2 separate regions of the Homo sapiens genome follow, and region 1 is linked to region 2. Evidence: promoter capture Hi-C in human tissues and cell types (Jung and others, 2019). All regions are on one chromosome and are shown on one strand. The core of a region is centred on a gene start or on the middle of the fragment in contact, and the rest is flanking DNA. Distances in the headings are between cores, read along the strand shown.

The links. Contacts are between HindIII fragments. The study calls those that stand out against the background at their distance.
Region 1: a fragment that was not itself captured here is called in contact with the fragment with the promoter of PDE4B in region 2 in 3 of the 25 tissues and cell types used here (H1 embryonic stem cells, bladder and liver).

What each region holds. Positions count from the first base shown.
Region 1 is chr1:65,927,966-65,931,329 of GRCh38, forward strand. The region is part of intron 3 of PDE4B (phosphodiesterase 4B); the gene reads left to right. Among named protein-coding and RNA genes, the nearest start is that of PDE4B-AS1, 120 kb to the right of the region's middle. The HindIII fragment of the contact is 7,284 bases long and covers 1-3,364 here.
Region 2 is chr1:65,790,716-65,794,379 of GRCh38, forward strand. It overlaps PDE4B (phosphodiesterase 4B), which reads left to right and starts at 2,180. Exons shown (of 17, transcript NM_002600.4): 1 at 2,180-2,533. The HindIII fragment of the contact is 13,295 bases long and covers 1-3,664 here.

The DNA.
Region 1 (3,364 bases), core at 184-2,683, 140 kb after region 2:
TCCATAAGCCCCTGCTTTAACTGGAGGACCACAGTGACATTTTGGGTCCTCTGGAATCAATGTCAGCTCAGAGCCAGTGTCCACTAGTTCCTTAAATGTCGATCATTTCCCTCTCCCCAGTGGGCAGGTACCCTGGTAAAAGGCTGGAGGTCTCCTTGGGGAAGGATGGGAGAAAGATTCACTGCTCAAATTGTCGATAACGTAGTGAGGTCCTTCCTCAAGGGTACCTGGCCTCCCCTTCATTCAAGGAGTTCTGGGTCTGTAAACTGGCTCAAGTCTGGAAATCGATTGAGGGGCCATTATTCTCTGTTTTTATAATTTAAATTAGTCTTTTGTCCATTCGACCTAGAAGTTTTCTGCTAGTATAAATTAAGTACGAATGCAGTAGGCTTCCTATCAATTTCACTTCTAGGAACACCGTGATTAATTAGCCAATGCCATAACTCTACACGAGTCAGACCATTCTGATTGCCACTTTGCCTCTGCTGTCCAATAAGGTAGCTACGCCCACCTTGCCTTTGAAGGTTGAGTGCCACCACTTGGCTCCTGCCACCTCAGGATCTAATTACTCCCATTGTATTTAAATTTTGTGGTTGAGTGACTGCAGTTCCCACTGTTAGATCTGACATACAGAGAAGAGCAATTACAGGGCTCTTCAAAGATGCAGGTGCCACCCTCGCAAATCTATTTTGCAAGGCATTGGTCAAGGGTGTATCTTCTGGACCCTCCCAGCTGGGATGAGAGGTCTAAAGTGACTAATCCACTCCATCATCCCAATCTCCCTAAGCCTCTGGATCCCTTCCTCTCCATTAAACCAAGGGAGATCAGGCATTTCCAGCTTGCTTACAGTGGGCCATCTTTTAGTCCATATTTCAGCTAACCAAGCAAATAAACTATTAGAACATTTTTTAACTCACCAAGCTGCAACATTAGAAGCAGAGTTCCTATGTAGTGGGCCCAAATTAATAAATTCGGCCTGATCCAACTCTGTATTCCTTCCACCATTATCCCACACCCTTAATATCCATTCCCATGTTCTTCAGATTTCTGTTTATATAAATGAGAAAACTCAAGCAGTTCTTTTCCAGTGTAGCGCACCTCCTCATGGGTCACACTCTCAACCTTACTTCTAGGGGCCCGCCGGGACTTTAGTCTAGTTATAGGTCTAGAAGCAAACAGGCAGGTTGGGGGTGGCTCCTGAGGAGAATCAGCATTACCTTGCCTGGCAACCACCTCAGGGGAGGCCATCACTGTTGCCTCAGGCGGCACAGGGTTTATCTCTTCAGACAAAGGTAGAAAGGCTGATGGCAGCATGGGTCGGGGAGGGGATGTTGCCACTACTGGGGATGGGGAAGCTGTTCCTTCTGGCAAAAAAGATTCATCAGAGTTTACAAATTCAGTATCCCCAGCTTCATCAGTGTCTTCCCACATGTTCCTGTTCCAAGTTGCAGGGTCCCATTCTTTTCCAATCAATCTCACTTTAATAGACACCTGGTGAGGCTGTGCATGCACCTTCTGTTGCAGGTCACCCACTTTCATGATAAGAGTTTGTGCCTGTTTTTCCATAATTCCCGCTCTTTCTCTATAGGAAATAAGACTTTCACTTAGGGCAATCTTAACAGACTTGAGGTTCAGTATTTGCTTCTGAAGCCAGGAGACAGAATCCATGAGTTTATCATTTTCTTTCATCACTTTGTCCACTGAACTTAGGCGCAACCAATCAGCTTCATTACGTTCCTTGGTTCTGCACATATGGTCAAAGGTATTATGTATAGAGTCACTAAACTCCTTGCCTCTCATGAGTGGTGAATTGGGAGTGTCAAATGCATTTATTTTGTATAACTCTCTAAACAATCCATGCCAAGGACTATCAGTGTTCTCCATACTATTAGAAGTAGAATCCTTAGCATTTTTGAGTCTAATCATATTAAGCAGCCAACTCCAGAAACTCCCAAACTAATGAAAGAACTCCATTCTTAAAATACTGTTCCTCTAGAACCATTCTTGGTACCAAAATCTATATTTGCCAGAGTTCTCTAGAGGGACAGAACTACTAGGATACAAAGTCCCACAATAAGCTGTCTTTAAGCTTGAGAAGCAAGGAGAGTGAGTCTGAGTCTCAAAACTGAAGAACTTGGAGTCCAATGTTTGAGGGCAGGAAGCATCCAGCATGGGAGAAAGATATAGGCTGGGAGACTAGGCCAGTCTCTCCTTTTCACGTTTTTCTGCCTGCCTTATATTTGCTGGCAGTTCATTAGATTGTGCCCACCAGATTAAGGGTGAATCCTCTTTCCCGAGCCCACTGACTCAAATGTTAATCTCCTTTGGCAACACCCTCACAGACATGCCCAGGATCAATACTTTGCATCCTTCAGTTCAATCAAGTTGACACTCAGTATTAACCATCACAGAGGGCCACTGTTCTCCAGACTCCAGAATGATAGATCCACTGGCAGCTTGTACCCTGCACCTGGAAAAGCTACAGGCATTCAATGCCAGCCCTTGAGAGCAGCATTGGGGGGTCGAGCCCTGGAAGGCCACAGGGGCGGAGCTGCCCAAGGCCTTGGGAGCCCAGCCCTTACATCAGTGTGCCCTGGATGTGGGACATGGAGTCAAAAGAGATTATTGTGGAGCTATACAATTTAATGACCACCCTGCTGGGTTTTGGACTTGCATAGGGCCTGTAGCCCTGTTCTTTTGGCTGATTTCTCTCTTTTGGAATGGAAGTATTTACCCAATGACTATACCCCCATTGTATCTTGGAGGTAACTAACTTGTTTTTTATTTTACAGGCTCATAGGCAGAAGGGACTAGCCTTGTCTCAGATGAGACTTTGGACTGTGGAGTTTTGAGTTAATGCTGGAATGAATTAAGACTTTGGGAAACTGTTGGGAAGGCATGATTGTATTTTGCAGTGTGAGAAGGACATGAGATTTGGGAGGGCCCAGGGGCAGAATGATGTGGTTTGAATCTGTGTCCTCACTCAAATCTCATGTTCAATTGTAATCCCCAATGTTGGAAGTGGGACCTGGTGGGAGGTGATTGGATCATGGGGGCACTTTCACATGAATGGCTTAGCACCATCCCCTCAGTGCTGTCCTCATGATAATGAGTGAGTGAGTTATTGTGAGATATGGTTATTTAGAAATGTGTAGCACCTCTCCCCTCTCTCTCTTCTTCCTGCTCCACCCATGTAAGATCTAACTGCCTCCTCTTTTCCTTCCACCATGATTGTAAGTTTCCTGAGACTTCCCTAGAAGCAGAAGCAGCTATGCTTCCTGTACAGCCTGCAGAACAATGAGCGAATTAAACCTCTTTTCTTTATAAATTACCCAGTCTTGGGTATTCCTTTATAGCAATACGA
Region 2 (3,664 bases), core at 930-3,429:
TTAGTTTATGTAATTTTTAGAAAGAGATGAGAAAGATGCTTAAAAAGCTGACATCATTTTCTACTGGAATCCGTATATAATTCTTTTTGCAGTAAGAACTCTTTGGACACATTTTTCTGAAGATGATGTAATAACCTTGGGAGGCTTAGTAATTATTAATACCTTTCAAATTTCTCATATTCAAAAAGGGGCAGCATGATGCTCAAATTGGTTCTTTTTTTCCCCTAGATTGAACTACAATTTAGATTCCTTACACTCTCTTTAGGCAATGGTTGCCTTATATTTAATACATCTAACTAATCCTAACTGTAGTTCAGAAAAAGAGATTCCATTATCATCATTTTACAGATGAAAACTGTGAGAACAATGACTACATTGCGGATTTTGTTGGCTTCCTTTCAGGTGCTTATTGCCTCACTATTATTAATTTTGGCTTTGGGCTCAATTTCAAGGTTATGGATGAGGTAGATGGTATAGTGTAAGCAACAGGTCCAAAAAGGCAGAATAACCAGCGAACACTTGGTAGCATCTCAGATGTGGGGAAATAGGTGTTTTATACTCCAAACGCTAGTGTTTGAATATGTTTCCTCCAAAACCATGAAGGGGAAAGTTCATTAAGTTCCTACACTGATAAGCTCTTAGACATGCCTTTCAATGTACAGGCATGTAAAGCTATTTTGGGTGAATGGGTGAATAGTAGGTTATTAGGTTATTGCCCTTCTTTGGGAGGTCCCTATTTGTCCTTTAATACACAGTTCAGATGGGATTTAAATTCCCTGACCTGTTCCTTCTCTTACATAGAAAAAATTGCTTCCACTTATGCAATTGGCATGTGCTTCTGTTGTGAAATACTTGTGTTGTTTGTCTCGGGCTTTCATAGTTGGTTCTCCTATTAGGCAGTGAGCTCCTTGGGTGCAGAGACTATGTCCTAATCGACTCTGCATCCTTAGCTTCTGCAAAGTGCTCAGTGCACAGTAGGTGTGCATGATGTTTATTGGAATAAATCGAGAAACAGGCGAATGTTGTCTATTAAAGTCATTTTGGTCTCTAGCTACTGTAGTAGTTGGATAGGCAAAGTTACTTCATGCCTATCTTCCTCCTCTTTTCCTTGCCAGCTTCCTTCTTTTTTTCTCTGACTGAAAGGGCTGGACAACCGGGGAAAAGGAAACTTGTGCTTTCCAGCATACCTCTCCCACTCTACACACACACACACACACACTCTCTCTCTCTCTCTCTCTCTCTCTCTCTCGCTCTCGCTCTCGCTCTCTCTCCATCCTGTTGCATTTTTAAAGCAGGCTCAGTCAGGTTACTGAGTGCCTGTTGCTCCATCACACGAATTCCCAAGTTGTGGGACTCACCTTCAGGGGTGTCTTGGTGGAGCACCTCTTGGGAGGTGATCTGACCTGTTGGTTCAGGAGCACTGCGCGTATTCACTCTGGCGCTCCTTTGTGCAACAGGAGACCAGAGGACTCCCACGGTCCCACTGGCTCCTTCCACGTAATGTGCCCCGCTGGCTCTCTCGCCTCCCCCAACCCGGGGGTCTGCGTCCCCTGCGCCCCAGTCCCTCTTTGTGCAGCCAGTAGCTGCAGAGCTCTTCGTCTTGTATTCATGGCAGATGCACAGCGAGTGACTGACACGTTCCAGGGACGGCGAATGGGAAAGAGCGCGGGCGGCCGGGGGAGGGTGTGTAGTGGCAGACGGCCGCTGGGATTATGAATGGGGGCTGGGGGGCCGGCGAGTGTGGGGTTCAAACCAGGATTTTCGGTCTCTGGCTTTGGATAGGCACGCAGGGCTGTGCGTAATCCTTCAGCTCTGGTGGTAAGGGAGATGCAGTGAGCTCCCGGCTGGGAGAGAGGGTTATTTTGCAAAACTCCCCTGGTACCGTGCCCGCGGAATATTGCAGGAGGTCTGTGAGGTAGGTGGGGGAAAAAATAACCTGGGAGGGCAATCAGGGAGAGGCCAGACGACTGGGGACGGCGTGCTTTGCACCCTAGAATTGACAGGTGGTGGCCTCAGCAGTTACAACCTACTACACAGCATCTCGTCCGTGCGATACGGTCACATTGTTATTCCCCGCACCCGGCTGAGGAGCGCAGCGCGGCAGACCAAGTGGCACCGGCGAGCTGTCTCTCTTCCGGGGGGCGGGGGTGGACAGTAGGGAGAGGGGGTTTAAAGGGCCAGAGGACGAGAGAAGAGCTGAGGGGCGCGTCGCCAGCGCCTGTGTCTCCCTGGCGCGGGTTCCCCAGGCTAGCCCGCTGGCCCGTCCGCGCGCGCGCCCCCGGCCCGCGCGCCCCTTCCCGGGGCTCCTGGCCTCGCCTCAGCGGCTGCAGGCTCTTCGTCGCGGGCCGGGCTGCACGCGAGCGCCCTCCGGGCAGACTTTCGTCCCCCACCCCCGGGAGCGCGGAAGGCTCACTCGCAGCGCATGGTCTACCCGCGCCGGGCGGAGCCCCGGCGTCCAGAGCGCTGCGGCCGCGGCGGTGCAGCAGAGGCGCCTCGGGCAGGAGGAGGGCGGCTTCTGCGAGGGCAGCCTGAGGTAAGGGCTGCCTAGGAGGCTGCGGGTTTATTTTTCCTCATTCTCTTACTTCATCACACACTGAAGCCTCAATGGAGAGTGTAGGGTGCTGTGGGGCTGATGTGGGGCAAAGAGGGAATGGGGCCGCCGGGCCTGGATGGTCGTCTTGACGGCGTCATTGTCGCCCCTTGTAGGAAATCCGCCAACCGGCCCCTAGCCTTTCGCCCTCATCTTCTCTGCTTCGGCTTCCGCCCTTGGACCTCTTGACAAGTCACTGGGGAGGAGAGGATGGAGAGAGGCTAAGGGAGAATGGAGAGAGGCAGAAGGATTCAGGGCTTGGAAGCCCTGGAGTAGGTGACGGATGGGCGCGCGGTGCCCAGTGATTGACTGCAGGCAGCGGGCGCGGAAGGGAACCTGAACTACCCAAGAGTTTGCTGGGCTGAGGCTCCAGGATGCTCCTGCGTGCCCTGGTGGCTGGGGCACCAAGGAGGGGCGCACTCAAGCCTCGGCATCACCAAGGCTCTGCCAGGAACTTTTGGGAAGATTTGTCTGGTGTTTGGTGAGGGGGCTTGGACCTTTCTAGCTACAAGAGTGTGTTGGGGAAGGAAGAGGCTCTCCTCCTTTCTCCTGTCACTTTCCTTCATGCCTACTCTCTTCTTCCATCTTCCTGTTTTGCCTCCTTCCTTCCCGTTTTTCACAGGCCACCTTCCTTGTGCGGTACTTCAAACACAAATCGGAACCCACTATGGCCAACAGCTTTAAAGCGTGTATAAGGAGGAGCGCACAGAAGAATCGCTCTTAATTACAGTAGTTATATATGTGTGTGTGTGTGTCTGTGTGTGTCACACACGTGCCTGGGATAATTTTTAGCAAGACTTTGAGACGGTCACCTAAAATTACATTGTACTTACATTAGGTTTACATCATAATTATATGATGCCACTGAACAGAAATGGTAACTCTATGCATTCTGCATCTTAGATCTGAGATATAACTGTTCTTTGAATCACATGCATCGTTTAATTTCAAAGATTTCCAGCTGCTGGAAAACTCTTGGCTAAGTTATAAGAATGAAAGGCACATTAAGCATAAAAAAAGTAATAAATGTCCAGATACTATTTTTATTAGTAGATCATACTCCCCCTCCGTTTC